Linked DNA regions of Homo sapiens: regions 2, 3, 4, 5, 6 and 7 are each linked to region 1. Evidence: promoter capture Hi-C in 16 types of primary human blood cells and fetal thymus (Javierre and others, 2016). All regions are on one chromosome and are shown on one strand. Each heading gives the region's core, a stretch centred on a gene start or on the middle of the fragment in contact. The rest is flanking DNA. Distances are from core to core; before and after follow the strand shown. Region 1 holds the start of OTUD6B (OTU deubiquitinase 6B). Region 2 overlaps PARAIL (palmitic acid regulated anti-inflammatory lncRNA). Region 3 has its middle 72 kb from the start of OSGIN2. Region 4 has its middle 43 kb from the start of PARAIL. Region 5 overlaps PARAIL (palmitic acid regulated anti-inflammatory lncRNA). Region 6 has its middle 530 kb from the start of PARAIL. Region 7 overlaps RIPK2 (receptor interacting serine/threonine kinase 2).

Region 1 (3,341 bases), core at 641-3,140:
TATATGATTTACTTGGAACTATATGATGCAGTAACTACTGTTTTTCCCCATGCATCATGTACAGAAAATGAGGATGTATCCACCCCCTCCCAAACCAGTGATTTGGAAGTTTCTTTACAGTATCAGTAGTAACATGGACAAACTTGTTATTTTTTTCCTGCTATACTTAAAAATAAGGGAAATAAAACTGTACTGTTTTCCAATTGTCAGATTTGACATTTAGAATGTTATTTGTCAAATCTACAGTGACAAAGCCCTTTTACTTAGGTTTAGCTTAAGAACATGCGTATTTGTATCTACAATACTACATGCTAAAAATAAAACAGTATTTGTCCAATATATTGAACATGTGGTATGCCCTTCCAGTTTAAACGTAAACTGAAATTTTACACCCAGCTTATGTTTCTATTTTTGTATTTAGTTTTAATGCCCTATACATAACAATTTAAACTTAATGCTCCTTAACTAGTTTTAATGCATACCATCAGTTCTTTCATACAATTGCCTCCCTATTCTTATTTTAATTCAGGTTCTCTGTTAGCTGCAGTAAATCCTTCAGCAAAATTTTCAGGGAAAGTTCTTGGTTGATATACTTTCCTAACCCCTGTATATCTAAGAATGTCTTCCAGTTTCCTTTGTAAAGAAATGATAACTTGGCAGAGTATATAATTCTTGGCTCAAAATTATTTTCCCTTAACACTCTAGATATTGTTCCACTGTCTTCTGGCATTTAGAATTGCAGGAGAAAAATCTGAGGTCAGCCTGACTTTTGCCCCTTTGTAAGTAACCTGCTTTCTCTGACTGGATGCTTGTAAAATGTTTCGTCTTTGAAATTCAAAAACGTCACCCGGATATGTCTAGATGCTGCTTTCTTTTCATTAAACTTTAAAGGTATCCTATGAGCCTTTTCCATTTGTAGATCTAGTTCGTTCTTCAATTCTGGAAAATTTTTTCAAGTAGATCCTTTATTGTTTCAGCTCCACTTGCTCTGTCCTCAGTTTCAGGTATTCCTATTATGCATAGATTGTATCTCCTGGACCGGCCCTCTAGATCTCTCTTTTTCTCCTCTTAATTTCTTTTCCCCTTTTCTCTGTATTCTGTGACAATTTGTCGTTTTGCACTTACTTCAGTAATTCGATTTTGTGGCCAATCCAGCGTGCGCCCTTCTGTTAACTCTCTCAACTTCCTGGTATTTTCCAAGCGCTCTAATAGTACCCTCTTTATCATCGCGCATAGGTGTTTAAGCTCCTGTATTATATGATTCTCAATCCTTCTTATATCTTGTTTCCATCTCTATATCCGTTTCAAGAGGAGGCATTTTCTCGATTATTTAGCGCTGCTCCTTTTTTCTCAGGGGCGGTATTACGACCTTGGAGACAATAAACATAATTTAATTCCACACAGCCCCAAACAGCCCAAAGATTCCCATTGATAATTATCGACGGCTTTATTAAAATGCGTTATTTTTCTTTCTTACCTTTTCAGTTGCTTTTCTTAGAAACAGGGACCAAAATCAAAGATTAAAGAGGTCCTCTGAAGCAGGGAATGAAATAGACGTTGAAAACTATTCCCGTTACGCCATCTCTGCGCGCCTCACGTCAGGGCCAAGAGCCTAGCGCGTAGCTTTATGGCTGACTCGGCTCTGGCGCTCTAGCCAATTCCGAGGCTGCAAACTCCGCTTCTCCGCTCGCAGTCTGGTTCCTCCCCTGCCGCCCCGCCCATCACGGCAGGGTCACGGTAGCGCGCACGCGCAGCACCCCATTTAAGTTTCTCGTCTTTGCAGTGGCTTTGCTTAGATCCGGTGCCGCCTTGAAGGCGGGGCTGGGTCCCAGCCGTAGCCAATGGAGCCCCGGGTGAGGGTTGAGGGGTGGAAGGTGCCTACTAGCCGGTGCAGGTTTCTTCTAGCGCGTGTGCTGGGGTACCTGGTCGTCATGGAGGCGGTATTGACCGAAGAGCTTGATGAGGAAGAGCAGCTGCTGAGAAGGCATCGCAAAGAGAAGAAGGAGTTGCAAGGTGAGGCGGAAGGAAGTGGGAATCTGGAAGCCGCCGCGACTGGGGGAAGGGCGCGTGGCGGGTCGATTCTGGGGAATCTCAAGGCGTGACTTATCTGGATCACCCTAGACTTCCCCTAGTAGCAAGTGGCCTCTTCTCTCTTCACCTACCCCGGCGGCCCTTTAATTCCCCAACCTTCAGAGGCTTCCCCTTCTGAGGCCTGCGGCGTGCCCCCTACCCCGCGCCGCCGCCGGGGTGCAGGTGTCTGAAAATACCTAGAAGCCGCCGTCTTGGTCCGCTCCCAAACCCACGATGCCTCCCTTTTCTATACCTGCCCCAGTTACCGATACTTGTCCCTAATGGGTGTATTTTGAATGGACCCGCCTCAGTTTAGGAGGTTCAGAAAGGATACCGGAAAGATTTAAAACTGGCTACAGTCAGGTTTTTTTCCTTCTCTTATCTCGCCAAACAACCGAAACATATTCAAGATTTTGTTAATGAAGTTTTTTTTTTTTTTGGTCTCAGCTTTATCTGGGATCTTCTCTCTCTGTAGCTGCCTGTTACGTGATGACTCTTTCTTCCATAATTACTTTTTCTGTACCCTTCGCCCGTTACCATCCCCTTATTGGTTCCTGTTTCTCATCTCCTTTTACTCCTGCGTGTCTGACTTAATGATTTTAATGGCTTTTCAGCCAAAATTCAGGGCATGAAGAATGCTGTTCCCAAGAATGACAAGAAGAGGAGGAAGCAACTCACCGAAGATGTGGCCAAGTTGGAAAAAGAAATGGAACAGAAACATAGAGAGGAACTGGAGCAATTGAAGCTGACTACTAAGGAGAATAAGGTATGTGAAATAAATGTTTGTCGTTGCCTACACCATTTGAAAACAGCTGTCCACTTCTGTTAAATGTTAAACTGCTTTTTTTTTTTTTTTTGAGACGGTGTCTCGCTTTGCAAAACACGCTCAATCTTGGCTCACTGCAAGCTCCGCCTCCCGGGTTCAGGCCATTCTCCTGCCTCAGCCTCCCGAGTAGCTGGTACTACGGGCGCCCGCCACTACGCCCGGCTAATTTTTTGTATTTTTAGTAGAGACAGGGTTTCACCATGTTAGCCAAGACGGTGTCGATCTCCTGACCTTGTGATCCACCCGCCTCGGCCTCCCAAAGTGCTGGGATTACAGGCGTGAGCCACCGTGCCCGGCCCTGTTAAACTGTTTATTATCTAAAATCATAAAATTGGTAGGGAAATGAAATCACTTAGTTATGCTCATGCATCACTTCTCATTAATGTTTTTGTGACCAAGTTTACAGGGCAGTGTGTTTCTATAAGGGAGATCGGCAAAGAAAGTG
Region 2 (3,144 bases), core at 577-3,076, 1.3 Mb before region 1:
TAATCCCAGCACTTTGGGAGGCCGAGGCGGGTGGATCATGAGGTCAGGAGATCGAGACCATCCTGGCTAACAAGGTGAAACCCCGTCTCTACTAAAAATACAAAAAATTAGGCGGGCGCCTGTAGTCCCAGCTACTCGGGAGGCTGAGGCAGGAGAATGGCGTGAACCCGGGAAGCGGAGCTTGCAGTGAGCCGAGATTGCGCCACTGCAGTCCGCAGTCCGGCCTGGGCAACAGAGCGAGACTCCGTCTCAAAAAGAAAAAAAAAAAAAAAAAAACTACAAATCAATACCAGGTGGAACTTTGTAAACTATACAAATACATGGAAATTAAACAACGTGCTCCTGATGAATCTTTGGGTCAATGATGAAATGAAGATGGAAATTATAAGTGAATGAAAATGGAAGCAAAACACATGAAAACTCTGGGATATAGCAAAGGCAGTGCTAAGAGTAAAGTTTACAGTGTTAAATGCCTGTATAATAAAAAAAGAAAGATCACAAATTAATAGCCTAACATCACATCTCAAGGTGTTGATTATATATAAAACAACAAACCAAGCCCAAAGTTAGCAGAAGAAAAAAAGAAAGATTATAGCAGAACTAAAAGAAACAGAGACACAAACAGAAACAATAGGAAGGGTCAATGAAACAAAAGGGCTTTTCTTTTTTGTTTTGTTTTGTTTTGTTTTGTTTTTGGAGACCAGGTCTCATTCTGTCACCCAGGCTTGTGTGCAGTGGTGCAGTTATGGCTTACTATGTCCTTGAACTCCTAGACTCAAGCAATCTTCCCACTTCAGCCTCCTGAGTACCTGGGACTATAGGCACAAACCACCATGCTCAACAAATTTGTAAAAAATTAAAAAAAAATGTTTTTCAGAGATTGGACCTTACTATATTACCCAGACTGGTCCTGAACTCCTCTGGTCTTGACCTCCCAAAGTGATAGGTTTACAGGTGTGCGTGATTGCACCCAGCCAAAATACTGCTTTTGAAAAGATAAACTGTTTACAATAATTGAGGAGGTGAGAATTCTTCCTAACTCATTCTATGAAGCCAGTATCATGCTGATACCAAAAACATATAAGGACACAAGAAAAAGAGAAAACTACAGATAAACATCCCTGATTAACATACATACAAAAATCCTAGGCACTGTACTAGCAAGCCAGATCAAACAGCACATCAAAAAGATAGTACAGCATCATCAAGTGGGTTTTATACCACATATACAAGGATCATTTACCATATGTGAACCAATTAATGGGCTTCATCACATAAACATAATTAAGGAAAAAAACATGATCACCTCAATAGATGCAGAAAAGGCATTTGAAAAAATTCATCCACACTTCATGATAAAAAGCCTCAACCAATTAGGCATAGAAGGAATATACCTCAAAATAATAAAAGCCATGTATGCCAAACCAACAGCCAGTATCATACTGAATGAGGAAAATATGAAAGCATTCTCTTTAAGAACTAGAAACAAGACAGGGATTCCCACTTTCGCCACTCATATTCAGCATAATACTGTAAGTCTTAGCCAGTGCAATTAAGCAAGGTAAAGAAAATAAAAGGCATCCAAATTGGAAAAGAGAAAGTCAATATATCTCTGTTGATGATATGACCTCATATCTAGAAAACCCTCAAGATTCGATAAAAAAAAAGCTTAGATTTGATAAATGAATTCAGTAAAATTTCAGGATAGAAAAGAAATGTACAAAAATCAGTATCACTTCTATACCCTTATAATGATCAAGGTGAGAACCAAATAAAAAAAGGCAATTTCAGTTACAATAACTATGAAAAAATACATTCCCTCTCACTTGGCTGTGGCATGGCACTGGGACCACCCCTCCATCCCTGTGCTGGGACCTTGGGGCAGCAGCATTGCACCACTCCTCACCTGGGCATTTCTCCAGGGACCTGGGGACTGCCCTCTGATCCCCATTGGGGCTGGAAGCCACCATTGAAGGAACTGAGTGCAAGCTTTACTGGTCCAGCTCTGCCCAGCTGTGCATCCCTCTCCCTCAGACAGTATGGTATCCAGACCACTGAGCATTTCATGGACCAATCAATCATCTGGGACACCTAAGCACTTCTCTGGGATAATGAAGGTTGAGCATAAACTGTACTCAACAGGTGAATGGTTAAAACACTGTGATACACTATACAATGGATACTATTTAGCAATAAAAAAAGAACCAAATACTAATTCTAAGCAACAATTTGGATGAATCTCAAGGTCATTATGCTGAGTGAACAAAGCCAATCTCAAAATATCACATACTTTATGATTCCATTAATGTAATAGAGTAGAAATAGATTAGTGATTAATAGGGATTAAGGATGGTGGGAGAGTTAGGGGGTGAGTGTGAAAGTAAAGAGTATAAATGAAATCTTTTTTGTGGTGGGATAGTTCTGGATCTTGACTGGGGTGGTGATAAAGGAATCTACACATGTGATAAAATGACACAGAACAATATATATATATTGGATGAATGCTATATTACTGGTTTTTATATTGTATTACAATTCTGTAAGATATAACCACTGGCGGGAACTGAATGAAGGATACATGAGACCTCTCTGTATTATCCTCGCAACATCCTATAAATTTATAATTATCCTAAAAAGTATTTTTAAATTGTAGCTGAGTATATTAGATTCCTGGGGCTGCCATAACAAAACTACACAGAATGGTTTAAACAACAGAAATCTATTGTCTGGAAGCTAGAAGTCCAAAATCAAAGCACCAGCAGAGTTGGTTCCTTCTGATGACTATGAGGGAGAATCCATTCCATTCTTCTCATTTAGCTTCTGGTAGTCTAGTCTGTTCAATAGCTTGCAGATAGTGTTCTCCCTATGTCTTCACAGTATCTTCCCTCTATGCATGCTTGTCATGATGTACAAATTTCCCCTCATTATAAAGACACTGTCAGGATTAGGTCCCATCCTAATAACCTTATCCTAATTTGATCAGCTGTAAAGATTCTATTTCAAAATATGGTTGGTCACGGTCATCGGTATTGAGGGTTAGGACTTCAACATCTTTTTGGGAAACATGGTTCAAACAATAACACTGGGTCTAAAAGAATCAATTGTACAAGAGGGAAAACCTGTTTTAAAGGCACTTCATTAAGA
Region 3 (3,201 bases), core at 81-2,580, 1.2 Mb before region 1:
TTTCCTGTGGTCAGAGAAGTGGGAAGGAAAGGACAGTTAAGGAGAGATTATACAGAAGATATTGGAAATGGAATGGATAATTTGTGCTCAGTCATTCGGCACTCACTATGTGCTAGACACTGGATGTTATCACAAGATGGGGTGGAGATTGATCTTGGACAAGACATACAGCAGCCAGATCATCTTTTTAAAAAGTAAATCACATCATTTTACTCTCCTATTCAACAACCTCCAAAGTGTGCTCCCCTTGCAAGCATAATAACTATTGTGGGTTCTTAGCATGACCCACACTGTCCAATATGATCAGTTCCCAAAAAATTTCGACAAGCTCACCTCCTGCCACATGCACTTACTCCCTCTGGCATTTTTTCTGTTTTGTAGGACAAACCTTTGGCTTCCCCAGGGGATTTTCTCCCTCCACCTGGAATGCTCATTCCTCATCATTTAGGTCTTAGCTCAGATGCTTTCAGAAGCCTTTCATTATCACCATATGAGAGTAACCCTCTTCCCCCAACGCCCTGCCTTAGACAATCTCAGTCTCATCTCCCTGTTTTTCGTTGTTGTTTTTTTTTCCTTTTTTTTTTTTTTTTTTGAGATGGAGTTTCACTCTTGCCACCCAGGCTGGAGTGCAATGGCACCATCTTGGCTCACTTCAACCTCCACCTCCTAGGTTCAAGTGATTCTCGTACCTCAGCCTCCCAAGTAACTAGGATTGCAGGCACTCACCACCACGCCCAGCTAATTTTTTGTAATTTTAGTAGAGATGGGTTTCACCATGTTAACCAGGATAGTCTCAATCTCTTGACCTCGTGATCCACCCACCTCGGCCTCCCAAAGTGCTGGGATTACAGGTGTGAGCCACTCTTAGGCCCCATCTCCATTTTACTCTCATAGTATTTATTACAATCTTAAAATGCCCATTTCTTTGTGTTATCTGCCTCCTCCAACAATACTCCACAGAAACAGAGATCTTATTTGTCTCTTAGACACTGCTCTAGCTTCAGCATCTAGAAGACTTGGCAATTATCTATTGGCTAAATGAATAAATAATGACCTTGAGAGTGAGTAAGCTGAGGGATGTTCATGATCACGAGAAGTGAGATTAGTTTAAAGAGCTTTCCTGGGTAAGAGTAAGCTCAGAGTAGGAAACTGAAAGGCGGATTGATGAAGATATAAATAATAATCCATGAGGAACTACATTATAAAAGTTTCTTTAAAAAGATTCTTAACATAGTAAGCATGACTGTATACATTGTGAGTATACAAACCTGGAAATTTATACCAGTGAATTTAAAATTGCATCTCTATAACACCATAAATCAATTTATTGTTTTGGCAAAGTATGGTAGCTATGCTGTCTCTTCTGTTGGAAGACATCTTTCAACTCATTATCTATTATTCTTTTAGCTACTGATTCTATGCCAGGCTCTCAATTATAGGATTCATGTGCTTAAGGAAAATATAGCCTGAAAGACCAAATCCAATCAAAGTAGGTAAAATATATACTGTCTGAAATTGCCTCACCATATGGCTTGAGAATTTCTCAACTAGCATTTATTTATGCATTATTTGTATGGTTTTTTATTTTTAAAATTTCCTTTTTTTCTTTGTTCATACCGAGTCCTGCACGTCTTATTAATTTTTTAAATAAAAGAAATACCTATGAGAAAGAGGCCAGGCATGGTGGCTCACGCCTGTAATCCCAGCACTTTGGGAGGCTGAGGCAGGTGAGTCACCTGGTTTCAGAAGTTTGAGACCAGACTGGCCAACATGGGGAAACACCGTCTCTGCTAAAAAAAACACAAATATTAGCTGGGCATTGTGCTGCCACCTGTAATCCCAGCTACTCGAGAGGCTGAGGCAGGAGAATCACTTGAACCTGGGAGGCAGAGGTTGCAGTGAGCTGAGATCGCGTCACTGCATTCCAGCCTGGGTGACAGAGTGGGACTCCATCTCAAAAAGAAAAAAAAAATACCTATGAAAAACAAAGACAACTTTTTAAAAACCTACTCTTTATCAAACATACATACCTAGGAATTTATCGTAAGGATAAAATTTAACAGAATTGAAAAGATAAGTGTGGCAATGTTAACTTGTTAACTATACTCTTATTTGTAAGAATAAAAACAAACAATAACAAAAGAAACTATGCATCAACTTGGAGGAGAATTCCGTGGCTTATAAAAATGATATCCCAAAAAACATAGAAAAATATTTATGATTACATATCAAATGAAAATAGCAGAGCCTGACATGGTAGCCTGCGCCTAGGATCCCAGCTGTTTGTGAGGCTGAGGCAGAAGAAGCGATTGAGGCCAGGTGCAGTGGCTTACGCCTGTAATCCCAGCACTTTGGGAGGCCAAGGCGGGCAGATCACCTGAGGTCAGGAGTTCGAGACCAGCCTGGCCAACATGGTGAAACCCTGTCTCTACTAAAGATGTGAAATTATCTAGGCATAGTGGAGGATGCCTGTAATCCCAGCTACTTGGGAGGCTGAAGCAGGAGAATGGTGTGAACCTGGGAGGCGGAGCTTGCAGTGAGCCAAGATAGATCGCGCCACTGCACTCCAGCCTGGGTGAGAGAGAGAGACTCCGTCTCAAAAAAAAAAAAAAATTGATTGAGCCCAGGAGTTTTTGAGTCTGCGGTGAGAGCTATAATCATTCAACTGCGCTCCAGCCCAAGTGACAGAGCAACACCTCGTCTCTTAAAAAGAAGAAAGAGAAAATAAGAGAATACAAAATAACATTAGTAGTATAGCATGTTGGGTCAAAAACAGATTTTTGGAATATGACAATCCTGATCCAAATCACATTTAGTTACTTAGGAACTATGTGACTTTGGGCATGTTCCTTATCCTTACTAAGGCTCTGTTTTCTCATTTGTAAACTAAGAATACCAATAGCACTAATTCTATCACATAGGAACAATGCTTTTGTTAACTGGAATTCACATTTAAAAATTTTATCGGAATGCCCCCATTAAAAATATTCATTTGAAAGTCATTTACACTCAAAAATTTCACCTTCTTTGCAACATACTTTATATCTTAGATTTAAATTTCCATGTTCATCATGAAATAACTGACAGAATCTACTGCTGTGTTGTCAAATGTTTTGCAGAACTCGATAACTCTACACTCTTCACAGTGAATAAGCCTTAAAAATTAAAACTAAGCAACTGAAAATAGAGTGCTAGTTATTT
Region 4 (3,332 bases), core at 687-3,186, 1.4 Mb before region 1:
GCTAATATCCAGAATCTACAATGAACTCAAACAAATTTACAAGAAAAAAACAAACAACCCCATCAAAAAGTGGGCGTAGGATATGAACAGACACTTCTCAAAAGAAGATATTTATGCAGCCAACAGACACATGAAAAAATGGTCATCATCACTGGCCATCAGAGAAATGCAAATCAAAACCACAATGAGATACCATCTCACACCAGTTAGAATAGCAATCATTAAAATGTCAGGAAACAACAGGTGCTGGAGAGGATGTGGAGAAATAGGAACACTTTTACACTGTTGGTGGGACTGTAAGCTAGTTCAACCATTGTGGAAGTCAGTGTGGCAATTCCTCAGGGATCTAGAACTAGAAATACCATTTGACCCAGCCATCCCATTACTGGGTATATACCCAAAGGATTATAAATCATGCTGCTATAAAGACACAGGCACAGGTAAGTTTATTGCGGCACTATTCACAATAGCAAAGACTTGGAACCAACCCAAATGTCCATCGATGATAGACTGGATTAAGAAAATGTGGCACATATACACCATGGAATACTATGCAGCCATAAAAAATGATGAGTTCATATCCTTTGTAGGGACATGGATGAAGCTGGAAACCATCATTCTCAGCAAACTATCACAAGCACAAAAAAACCAAACACTGCATGTTCTCACTCACAGGTGGGAATTGAACAATGAGAACACATGGACACAGGAAGGGGAACATCACACACCAGAGCCTGTTGTGGGGTGGGGTGGGGAGGAAGGATAGCATGAGGAGATATACCTAATGTTAAATGACGAGTTACTGGGTGCAGCACAACAACATGGCACATCTATACATATGTAACTAACCTGCACATTGTGCGCAAGTACCCTAAAACTGAAAGTATAATAATAATAAATAAATAAAAGATGTCGAAAGGGGTTGCAGTTATCTAAACACTTTACTGGTGCTGCAAAATTTGCTTCCAAGATGGCTCACTCACGTAACTGGGAAGTTGATGCTGGGTCTTGGCTGGAGACTTCAGTTTCTCTCCATGTAAACTCTCTGTAGATGTGAGCATCCTCAGGACATGGCAGTTGGGTTTTCCTCAGAGGAGCAATGCAAAAAGGAGCAAGTTGGAAGCTCCAATATCTTTTTGACCTAGGCTTAAAATCCATACATTGTCAGTTCTCCATATTCTATTCTTTACAGAGTTTGGCCCTATGCCATGCAGGATGAGACTATATTAGAGTTGAACAGTAGAATGCAGAGACTGTTGGGGAGCATCTTAGAAGCTGCTTAACACAACTATGGTAAGTTACAGTGTCCTTATCATATACCTTACTTCTATATATGTTATAAAGCCAACAGTACATTATTTCTATTTTGCTTTAAGCAGTCAATTATCTGTTAAAGAGACTTAAAAACTAAGAAAATTAAGTATTTTTCATGTATCCATATATTTATGATTTCTGGCATTTTTTATTCCTATGTGAATACACAAGTTTCCATCTGGCATCATTTTCCTTCTGCCTGAATAACTTCCCTTAATATTTCTTATATTTAGTTTGCTGACAATGAATTTTACCTCTTTTGTTTGTCTGGAGAATTGTTTATTCACCTTTATTTTTAAAAAATCAAAAACCTGGACATAGAATTCTAGATTGACAGGTTTTTTTTCTTTCAACACTTGGAGGACTGTCATCCAGTTTGTGTAGTTTCTGATGAGAAGTTTCTGTTGAGACAGTGCCTTTTTTTTTTCCTCTGGCTGCTATTATGATTTTTCTCTTTATCAAAACTGGTTTTCTAAAATTCAATTACAATGTGTATTGGTGTGATTTTCTTAGGATGCTTTTCCGTCTTAGGATTCTTTGAGTTTCTAGGATCTATGAGTTTATACTTTTCATGACAGTTGGACAAACATTTGGCCATTATGTCTTCTCTTTTTACACTCCTCCACCTTGCTTCAGTGGTTCCAATTATATTAGATCTCCTGACTTTGTTCCTGAGGTCACTGATGCTCTGTTCATTTTTCTATTAGTCATTTTTCTCCCTGAGCTTCATTTTTGATAGATTCTATTGCTCCTTCAATTTCACTCATCTTTTCTTCTGCAGTATCTAATCAGCTGTTGATCCCGTTCAATCTATTCATTTCAGAGATGAAATGAAGAATCTATTGTATTTTTCATCTCTATAACTTTGATTTGTCTTCTTCTATTATCTATATCTCTCTTCATCATGCTCATGCTTCCCTATACCTTACTCATGATGTGAAGCATATTTACAATAGACAATTTTAGTCATTACATCACCTCTGTCATTTCTGGTGCTGTTTCTATTTATTGACATTTTTCTTCTGATTATGGGTTAGGTTTCTTATTCTTTCTACTGTCTGGTAAATGTTTTATTGCTTTGCGACATTGAAACCTCACTTAATAGGGTGGTAGATTTTGTTGTAACCCTTCTAGTAGTCTTAGGCTTTGTTCTAGCACGCAGTTATGTTACTTAGTAGCAGTCTACCTCTTTTGAGGCTTGTTAGGGAAATCCAGAGTATATTTTAGTCCAGGGCTAATTTAGCCTCACTACTAACTTCACTACTGAGGTATTCTTCTGAGGATTCTATTCAATGCCCCTATATAATACAGTGTAATAAGGTCTTTCCACTCTAACTGATGGGAACACAAACTCTTCCCAGCCTTAAGTGAGCTTCAGGAATTATTTGGCTTATTGCCTCCCAGCAGTTCTTACCCCTGCCAGGGGTATCTTTCTCTCTCACATGCACATACCAAGGCTCAAGGGACCCCTTTGTGATCTCTGGGTATATTCTCTCTTATCTCTCTCTCTCTCTCTTCACCAACCCCCCCCCCCCACCCAAAATCTCTATCCACTTTAGTCTCCATGAACTCTAATTTCTAATCCCTCCACTAAGGTAGACTGCCAGGATCTGTTCGAGGTTTCCCTCTGATATGGTTTGGCTCTGTGTCCCCACCTAAATCTTATCTCAAATTGTAATCCCCCATGTGTCAAGAAAGGGACTTGGTGGGAGGTGACTGGATCATGTGGGCAGTTTTCCCTATGCTGTTCTTGTGATAGTGAGGGAGTTCTCATGAGATCTGACGGTTTAAAAGCGGCAGTTTCCCCTGCACTTTTGCTCTCTCTGTCTCTCTCTCTCTCTCTCTGTCTCTCTCTCTCTCCTGCCACCTCTTAAAGACATGCCTTGCTTCCCCTTCACCTTCCACCATGATTGTAAGTTTCCTGAGGCCTCCCCAGCCATGAGGAACTGTGAGTCAATTAAACCTCTTTCCTTTTTAAATTACCCAGTTTCAGGTCATTCTTTATAGCAGCGTGAAAA
Region 5 (2,961 bases), core at 213-2,712, 1.3 Mb before region 1:
ATACCAAGCAATCCTATTTTTCAAAATGAAGAGGTGATAAATACTTTCTCAGACAAAAAAAGATGAGAGAGTTTATCACCACTAGACTTGTGTTAAAATGTCAAGGGAGTTCTTCAAGCTGAAGAGGACACTAGTTAGTAATACGAAAACATATGAAAGTATAAAACCCGGTAATAAAAACAACTACACTGTCAAAACCAAAACACTGCCACTGTTATGGCAGTGGGTAAATCCATTATATCTCTAGTATAAAGGTTAAAAGACAAAGCTATTAAAAACAACTAAAGCTGCAGTAATTTGTTGAGGAATACAAATTATAAAAAGATGAAAGTGAGACATCAAAAACATAAAATGTGAGAGGAAGGGGAGTAAAAGTTTAAAGTTTTATATGTGATCAAAATTTAGTTGTTTCCAAGATAAATACCACATTATAAGATGATTTATGTAAGCCTCAGGATAATCACAAAGCAAAAGCCTATATTTGATATACAAAAGATAAAAAGAAAAGATCCAAAGCATACTACAGCAGAAAGCCATCAGGCCACAAAGGAAGAAAGCAACAGAGAAAAGCAGAAACAAAGGATTTACAAAACAACCAGAAAATGATTAACAAAATGGCACTAGTAAGTCTTCACCTACCGATAATTACTTTGAATGTAAATGGACTAAATTTTTCAATCAAAATGCACAGAGCAAATGTCTGCACTAAAAAAATAAGACCCAACTGTATGCCGTCTACAATTCACATCATCTTAAAGGATACTCATAGAATGAAAATGAAGAGAGGGAAAAATATATTTCATTCAAATAGAAAACAAAAGACAGCAGGGGTAGGTATACTTATTTCAGAAAAAAATAGACTTTAAGTCAAAACTGTAAAAAGAGACAAGGTCATTATACTGTGGTAAAGGGTTTAATTCATTAAAAGGAGCAAACAATTGTAAATATATATATGTAAATATATACATAAATGTGTGTGTGTGTGTGCACCCAATAGCAGAGCATCTAAATATATAAGGCAGGCCGGGCATGGTGGCTCATGACTATAATCCCAGCACTTTTGGAGGCCAAGGCAGGAGGATTACTTGAGCCCAGGAGTTCAAGACCAGGATGGGCAACATAGGGAGAGCCCAACTCTACAAAAAATTTAAAAATTAGCCAGGTATGGTAGTGTACACCTGTGGTCCCAGCTGTTTGCTTGGGCCTGGGAGGTCAGGGCTGCAGTGAGCTGTGATTGTGCCACTGCATTCCAGTCTGGGCAACAGGGCAAAATCCTGCCAAAAAATAAAAAAAGATGGAGAAATAAAGCAAACATTAAGAGATCTGAAAGGAAACACACTGCAACACAATAATAGGATATTTCAATACCCCACTTACAACAAAAGACAGATCACCCAGAAATAAAATCAATAAGGAAACACTGGATTTGAACTATACTTTAGACCAAATGGGCATAATAGACATGTACTTGACATGCCACCCAACAGCAATGGAATACACATTCTTCTCAAGTGGATGCAGAATATTCTCCCAGATATATCATGTGTTAAGCCACAAAGAAAACTTAACAAATTTAAAAGTATCAAAATCATATCAAGTATTTTTTCCAACCAAAATGGCATAAAACTAGAAGTAAATAACAGGAGAAATCAGGAAAATTGCCAGCTGTATGGAAAGTAAACAATATGCTCCTGAACAACTATTTGGTCAAAGAAATTAAAAGGGAAATTTTAAAATGGAAACACTAAGTCAAAAATGGAAACACAACATGCCAAAATTTATGGTGGTAGCAAAAGCAGTTCTAAGAGCGAATTTCATAGCAGTAAATCCCTACCTCAAAAAAATGGAAAACTGCAAATAAACAAACTAATATTCCACCCCAAGAACTAGTAAAAGAATAACAAACTAAGCCCAAAGTTAGAAGAAGAAAAAAATAAGAAAGATCAGGGCAAAAGTAAATAAAATCGAGACTAGAAAAGTTATACAAAAGATGAATGAAACTAAGAGGTTTTTTTCTGAAAAGGTAAACAAAATTGACAAACCATTAGCTAGACTAAGAAAAAAAGGGAGAAGACTCAACCAAAACTCATTTCAAAAATGAAAGAGGAGACATTGCAACTTATTACACAAAAACAGAAAGCATCATAAGAGACTAATATAAACAATCATATACAAACAAATTCGACAACATACAAAAAATTAATAAATTCCTTGAAACAAATAGCCTACTGTATTAGTCCGTTTTCACGCTGCTGATAAAAGACATACCCGAGACTGGGCAATTTACAAAAGAAAGAGAAGTTTAATGGACTTACAGTTCCACGTGGCTGAGGAGGCCTCACAATCATGGCAGAAGGCAAGGAGCAAGTCCCGTCTTACATGGATGGCAGCAGGCAAAGAGAGAGAGAGCTTGTGCAGGGGAACTCCCCTTTTAAAAACCATTAGATCTCATGAGACTTATTCACTATCATGAGAACAGTGCAGAAAAGACCTGCCCCCATAATTCAATCTCCTCCCACCAGGTTCCTCCCACAACATATGCGAATTGTGGGAGTTACAATTCAAGATGAGATTTGGGTGGGGACACAACCAAACCATATCACCTAGCAAGACAGAATCATAAAGAAATCAGAAATCTGAACAGACCAATAATGAGCAAAGAGATTGAATTAGTAGTCAAAAATGTCCCATCAAGGAAAAGCCCAGACCCAAATGGCTTCATGGTTGAATGCTACCAAACATTTAAAGAACTAATATCAATCCTTCTCAAACTCTAACAAAAAATTGAAGAAAAGAGAATACTTCCAAACTCATTTTACAAGGCCAGCATTACCCTGATACCAAAGCCAAAGTCACTATCAGAAAAGTACAGGCCAACATCACTGATGAACATAGATGCAAAAATTATCACCAAAATACTATCAAACTCTATTCAACTGTACATTAAAGGATCATTCACCA
Region 6 (2,891 bases), core at 311-2,810, 1.8 Mb before region 1:
CCATTACTTTCTGTTATTATTTTTAAATTAACTTTTACTTTTGCAACAGGGAAAAAAGCAACATAAATCTTTTCCTAACTCGCTGGAATACTACAGTCCCTGTTGTGGCAAGAAAAGAAAGAATGTCACATCTCTACATACTATACACATGACATTGTTTATACTTCTCAAAGCTTTATTTTCTGCTAATTCCAAGTTTTTCCCCAATATAGCCACCATATGCAGGGATGCTTGACCTGTCTGGAAAACAAGCACCCAGAGTAATCTAAAATAATGTCTCTAAAAAGGAAATTTGATTATGATTAATCCTTGTTTTAAACTCTGAAGTAGAATAACAAAGAAAATAAACTAGATTCCCTGTTCACTTTGTTTGCTTTACTGATTACTGGAGTCCGTTTAACAACTTTTTTTTTTGAAAGGGAGTCTCGCTCTGTCGCCCAGGCTGGAGTGCAGTGGCGCCATCTCGGCTCACTGCAAACTCCGCCTCCCGGGTTCACGCCATTCTCCTGCCTCAGCCTCCCGAGCAGCTGGGACCACAGGCACCCGCCACTACAACCGGCTAATTTTTGTATTTTTGGTAGAGACAGTGTTTCACTGTGTTAGCCAGGATGGTCTCGATCTCCTGACCTGGTGATCCGCCTGCCTCGGCCTCCCAAAGTGCTGGGATTACAGGCGTGAGCCACCGTGCCGGGCCGTTTAACAATTTTGAGGTCAAATAGCACTGCTATGTTTTAGCCATTTTGAATTGATTTCTCATATGCAATTTTCTAATGTGCAAAATTAAATGCATTGTACACACTTAAACACACTGAAGACCTGTTAACTAATAGCAAAAGTGTTTTGCTTTAAAAGCAGTTACATAGATAGTGTGGGAATTTTAAAGCAACTATTGTTCTTTACAGTATACATCCTAAAGATATTAATAATCAAATCCCAGCTTATAACCTTTGTGTATGTCTATAGAAATCCTCGTTGGTATAGAATATAAATAACAAGAGACTAAAATTGGAGACATTGGTAAGAGATATTGACTTAACTTGTTTTACAGTGTTAAAACAGCACACACACACACAAAAGACCTTCACCTCCCAATCAGATGCAGTTGATCACAGTGAGGTCAACTCTTACTGCCACAACTAAAGAAAGCTGCATAAATTAAAATTCATATTTTAAAAGACTTCAAGGATTTCTAAAAGCAAGGAAGATTATTCGATTAACTAAACTTCTAGAAAGATGTAACTTTTCAAGATAAGCTGATGATTACCAGATGTTTATTTCTCTGCAGGGAATCCGGAAATCTTGTGTGTAGGATGACTGTGCTTGTCTAAAGCTTCTAAATGTCCCAAGCAGAAAGTTCTCAATAGGGAAAAGGGACACCAAAACTGTGTTAAGCAGCCACAAAGAACTGGAGAGGAATAAATGAAGTTTAAAAGTTCTAAAATTCTAGCACTATTGGGGAAATTATAAAAGCATATTCCATACTAGATCATAATAAGACAAGGATAAAGTTATAATTTCTAAAGTTGGCATAAAAGAACAGTGACAGAATGTATAACAGGTTAATTAAATAAAAGAGAGGGAATGTTTAAAAATATACATCTGGTTATCTAAAAGAAAGAAAGAAGAAATTGGGAAGGAACATAAAAGAAATGGGCCAAATACAGAATATTAATAAGATAGTGATATAAACCCAAATACAACAATAATTAAGTTAAAAGTAATTGGACTTCACATATAAATTTTAGAGGATGCAAACATTCCATCTCTAACACCTGATTTTATGATAAAGGTAAGCTTAAGAGTAGAGTGGAGGGAAAAGTACATTCTTTTAGAAAAATGGCCCTAAATCATTTCAATATGCATTGGGGAAAATCGTCTGAACCACTATGTGGCCCAGGTGGATTATAGGTACAAATGTGAAAGTTAAACAACAAAATTTCTAGAAAAAAAATAGAGGAAGACTACTTTGTGACTTCAGAGTAGGTGAAGATTCCTTCAAGAGGATGCAAAAAAAATACTAAAATGGGATTTAAAATATTGATAAACTGTACATAAACGACACCATTAAAAGAAGGAAAAGTCAACCCAAAGACTAGGAGAAGATAAAAGATACTTATAATTTATATATTCAACTGATAACTCATATCCAGAATACCTAATAAATATCTATAAATTAATAAGATGAACAACCCAGTAGAAAATTGGACAAAAGACTTGAAAGATATTTACAAAAGAATATATTCAAATGGCTAGTATACATGTGAAAAGGTAGTTAGTAATCACGGAAATGAATTGGGAAATCAAACATATCACAACACATTTCCATAAAGGCTACAATTTTATAAAGAAGAAAATATAAGTCTCACAAAATTTGGAATACCAAAATCCTAATGGATTCTGGTATAAATATAAATCAGAAAAATTGCTTTGGAAATCCTTTTGTCTGCTATTGCTGAAGATAAGCTTATGCTATGACCCAATGTAGTGTATAGCAGAAATGAGTACACACGTATTTTGGTCATTTGGGCTGCTATAACAAAATAAGATAAACTGAGTGGCTTATAAAGAACAGAAATGTATTTCTCACAGATCTAGAGTCTGGGAAGTCCAAGATCAAGTCACCAGCAGCTTTGGTATCTAGTGAGGGTCTGCTTTCTGTTTCACAGATGGCACACCTTCTCACTGTGCCCTCATATGGTGGGAGGGGTCTCTCTAGGGCCTCTCTTGTGAGGGCAACAGTCTCACCTATGAGAGCTCCATTTCCATGACTCAATCACCTCCTAAAGGCCTATTTCCCAATATCACCACCTTGGGGATTAGGATTTCAACATATAAATTTGGGGGGACATGAACATTCAGACCAAAGGAATACATAAACCAAAAGACGTGTA
Region 7 (3,204 bases), core at 82-2,581, 1.3 Mb before region 1:
AAAATGGACATCAAACAAAACTGAACAAATCCCAGAAGATGGAAATGATGACATAAAGTGGTTTTTGCCCCGTGATTTATACCATAGGAAAAGGCAATGCCTTTTCTGGGGAGTGAGGGGGAGATAACCCAAATCTCTGAATGTTTCCTGAAAAATGACACCATTCCCCAAAGTGTTGGTGTTCCATATTGGCACAATCATAGGAAAATTATGTTTTATGCTTTATTTATTTTTCATGGAATTTTACTTATTGCTATGTATCTGTCCTCACCTTTTAAATTATTCATTCCTTGTTCTTTTTCAGAACGTCTGCAGCCTGGTATAGCCCAGCAGTGGATCCAGAGCAAAAGGGAAGACATTGTGAACCAAATGACAGAAGCCTGCCTTAACCAGTCGCTAGATGCCCTTCTGTCCAGGGACTTGATCATGAAAGAGGACTATGAACTTGTTAGTACCAAGCCTACAAGGACCTCAAAAGTCAGACAATTACTAGACACTACTGACATCCAAGGAGAAGAATTTGCCAAAGTTATAGTACAAAAATTGAAAGATAACAAACAAATGGGTCTTCAGCCTTACCCGGAAATACTTGTGGTTTCTAGATCACCATCTTTAAATTTACTTCAAAATAAAAGCATGTAAGTGACTGTTTTTCAAGAAGAAATGTGTTTCATAAAAGGATATTTATATCTCTGTTGCTTTGACTTTTTTTATATAAAATCCGTGAGTATTAAAGCTTTATTGAAGGTTCTTTGGGTAAATATTAGTCTCCCTCCATGACACTGCAGTATTTTTTTTAATTAATACAAGTAAAAAGTTTGAATTTTGCTACATAGTTCAATTTTTATGTCTCTTTTGTTAACAGAAACCACTTTTAAAGGATAGTAATTATTCTTGTTTATAACAGTGCCTTAAGGTATGATGTATTTCTGATGGAAGCCATTTTCACATTCATGTTCTTCATGGATTATTTGTTACTTGTCTAAGATGCAATTTGATTTTATGAAGTATATACCCTTTACCCACCAGAGACAGTACAGAATCCCTGCCCTAAAATCCCAGGCTTAATTGCCCTACAAAGGGTTATTAATTTAAAACTCCATTATTAGGATTACATTTTAAAGTTTTATTTATGAATTCCCTTTAAAAATGATATTTCAAAGGTAAAACAATACAATATAAAGAAAAAAATAAATATATTAATACCGGCTTCCTGTCCCCATTTTTAACCTCAGCCTTCCCTACTGTCACCAACAACCAAGCTAAATAAAGTCAACAGCCTGATGTGTATCTTTCTGTCCCTTTCTTCCTGCTTATATTTAGAACATATGCTCATTTGAGAAAGGATCTTTCTGCATATTATTATTATAATTATACATCATACTGCAACCTGCTTTTTGCATTTAATAGTACAGCCTTCCAGATCAGATATGGCTCTAACTTACTCTTTTTACTTGCTGCCTAATACCCACAGTTTTTATTTTCTTAACTTGTCCATATCAAATTTAGCCCAAACAATAAAAGTACGGTGTGAGCACTTTTTTGGTTAATAGGTTATATTACTATAGGAGAACTTACAAGGAATAATAGCCCTTTTCTGAAACTGCGTAGCGAAGTCAGCAGAAAGTGAGATACAGAATAAATTTGAAAAGATGAACTTTCAAGAAGCAACAGACCCACAACCTGAAAAGTTTGAATAAAAGAAATTAGATGCCATTGAGGTAATTAAATATTAATTAGAAATATAAGCATTTTAATCTCCATTTTAGAGCTTGACATTAACTTGTACCTCTTACTGTGCCTTTCAGAAATATGGAAATTAATAGGGAAAAGTGAAAACTAAACACATGAGTTATCTATTAAATTTTAAAAAGCATTAAGATGCAAATTTTATTTGTGAAGTAATAAATAGAGAAAATTATTTTGGAAGCTTTCCCTTTTCTCTATACATACTCTAAAAAGAAATTATTTTGACTATTGATGGCCTCAAATTGATGTTTATACTGATTTCATGAGGTATATCTGGATTGATAAAATGAACTTTGCCTTGTTTTTTATTCTCTGCAAAGATCTAAAAACTCATAGTTTGTGTGCTTTATGGCTATGTGCTTACAGTCACTTTCTCCCACAATTTTCTGTATGGAAGACACGTGTAGTCATCCGTCATCACAGCTCTGCAAACTTTTTCTGCGTAAATAATAACATGTTGATAAGTAAGAAGATGTTGTCAGGGATTAAGATGAATCTGCAGTGAGCTCTCATCATCTCTTCATGGGATTGTTACAATCTCAGCAGTTGGTTTTTATTATAACCCCTATTTAGTAACTGCTACTTAGAGGAAGATGAGACAGATTATGCTGAGTATGACTAGTTAGTGTAGAACAGGGTCTGGCATAGAGTAGGCACTTTTTGAATAACTCTTTAATGAATAGTGCAATGGAATGAAAACATAGAGAAGGGGAGATGTTTCCTTTAAATCTTATTTCCAAAAATGTAGTGCAAGCACAGCTAGTAGTAAGTGGGATTATTTTAGGTCATATGTAGGCTCACCACTAAATGGCATTTGAGTCACTTAGTAAAGGACATTCTTTTCCGTTCTTTTTTGAGCCTTATAATTAAATAAAGGAGAATATCTCAATTTTTTTGCTAACATCTTTTTATCCCCCTCGTTAACAAAATGAGAATAGGCTTTAGGCTCAGAACTTCAGAGACTATTTACCAAGAATTTTATGGTTTTTTTTGTTGCATTCTATTTGAAATTTATACTTCTACATATGACAAGTAATAGTTTTCTGTTTATACTAAAGTTTTATTACATAATATTTAAATAAAGACAATTTAAGTACTATTAAGTAAATTATAATATAGATAGGACATGAATGGGCCAGCAATCATAGAAGTAGTAAGAAAATGACAGATTAAAATTCAGTCACTCCAGGAAGGGACCTAGTAATTTATTTTTTAACTAGCTAGTACTAGATAATGCTAGAGATGTCATTCCTTGCAGTGCATTTTAAGACAGTGCTACCCAGAAGTACAGTGCACAGACTGGCTACATTTAGCATCACCTATAGCATGTTAGAAATGAAACTTCATGGCTCCTATCTCAGACCGACTGATTCAGTCTCTGGGGGTGAGGTCTAGGAATCTGTTTTAACAAACTCTCCAAGCGATTTTTACTCACGGTAAAGTTCAAGACCCTTT

What was found. The method cuts DNA at HindIII sites, captures the fragments that hold promoters and counts their contacts. A CHiCAGO score of 5 or more calls a contact.
Region 2: a contact is called between a fragment that was not itself captured here and the fragment with the promoter of OTUD6B in region 1, in 1 of 17 cell types (total B cells). The highest score is 7.0, in total B cells.
Region 3: a contact is called between a fragment that was not itself captured here and the fragment with the promoter of OTUD6B in region 1, in 6 of 17 cell types (total B cells, neutrophils, naive B cells and 3 more). The highest score is 7.8, in total B cells.
Region 4: a contact is called between a fragment that was not itself captured here and the fragment with the promoter of OTUD6B in region 1, in 2 of 17 cell types (neutrophils and activated CD4 T cells). The highest score is 5.7, in neutrophils.
Region 5: a contact is called between a fragment that was not itself captured here and the fragment with the promoter of OTUD6B in region 1, in 4 of 17 cell types (total CD4 T cells, naive B cells, total B cells and 1 more). The highest score is 8.1, in total CD4 T cells.
Region 6: a fragment that was not itself captured here is called in contact with the fragment with the promoter of OTUD6B in region 1 in 1 of 17 cell types (activated CD4 T cells); the score reaches 6.9 in activated CD4 T cells.
Region 7: a fragment that was not itself captured here is called in contact with the fragment with the promoter of OTUD6B in region 1 in 9 of 17 cell types (total CD8 T cells, total B cells, total CD4 T cells and 6 more); the score reaches 13.0 in total CD8 T cells.

Annotation. Positions count from the first base shown.
Region 1 is chr8:91,068,454-91,071,794 of GRCh38, forward strand. It overlaps OTUD6B (OTU deubiquitinase 6B), which reads left to right and starts at 1,891. Exons shown (of 7, transcript NM_016023.5): 1 at 1,891-2,013; 2 at 2,685-2,836. The coding sequence starts at 1,932. OTUD6B-AS1 (OTUD6B antisense RNA 1) reads right to left here and starts at 1,736. Exons shown (of 3, transcript NR_110438.1): 1 at 1,478-1,736; 2 at 1,126-1,369. RefSeq lists an enhancer at 1,939-2,118. The HindIII fragment of the contact is 11,349 bases long and covers 1-3,341 here.
Region 2 is chr8:89,748,293-89,751,436 of GRCh38, forward strand. The region is part of intron 1 of PARAIL (palmitic acid regulated anti-inflammatory lncRNA); the gene reads right to left. Among named protein-coding and RNA genes, the nearest start is that of PARAIL, 7.8 kb to the right of the region's middle. The HindIII fragment of the contact is 321 bases long and covers 1,667-1,987 here.
Region 3 is chr8:89,828,909-89,832,109 of GRCh38, forward strand. No RefSeq gene overlaps it. Among named protein-coding and RNA genes, the nearest start is that of OSGIN2, 72 kb to the right of the region's middle. The HindIII fragment of the contact is 6,814 bases long and covers 1-3,201 here.
Region 4 is chr8:89,713,441-89,716,772 of GRCh38, forward strand. No RefSeq gene overlaps it. Among named protein-coding and RNA genes, the nearest start is that of PARAIL, 43 kb to the right of the region's middle. The HindIII fragment of the contact is 6,818 bases long and covers 1-3,332 here.
Region 5 is chr8:89,731,997-89,734,957 of GRCh38, forward strand. All of the region lies in intron 1 of PARAIL (palmitic acid regulated anti-inflammatory lncRNA), which reads right to left. Among named protein-coding and RNA genes, the nearest start is that of PARAIL, 24 kb to the right of the region's middle. The HindIII fragment of the contact is 9,223 bases long and covers 1-2,961 here.
Region 6 is chr8:89,229,138-89,232,028 of GRCh38, forward strand. No RefSeq gene overlaps it. Among named protein-coding and RNA genes, the nearest start is that of PARAIL, 530 kb to the right of the region's middle. The HindIII fragment of the contact is 464 bases long and covers 1,329-1,792 here.
Region 7 is chr8:89,789,775-89,792,978 of GRCh38, forward strand. It overlaps RIPK2 (receptor interacting serine/threonine kinase 2), which reads left to right. Exons shown (of 11, transcript NM_003821.6): 11 at 305-1,290. The coding sequence ends at 642. Among named protein-coding and RNA genes, the nearest start is that of RIPK2, 34 kb to the left of the region's middle. RefSeq lists a silencer at 434-634. The HindIII fragment of the contact is 1,194 bases long and covers 735-1,928 here.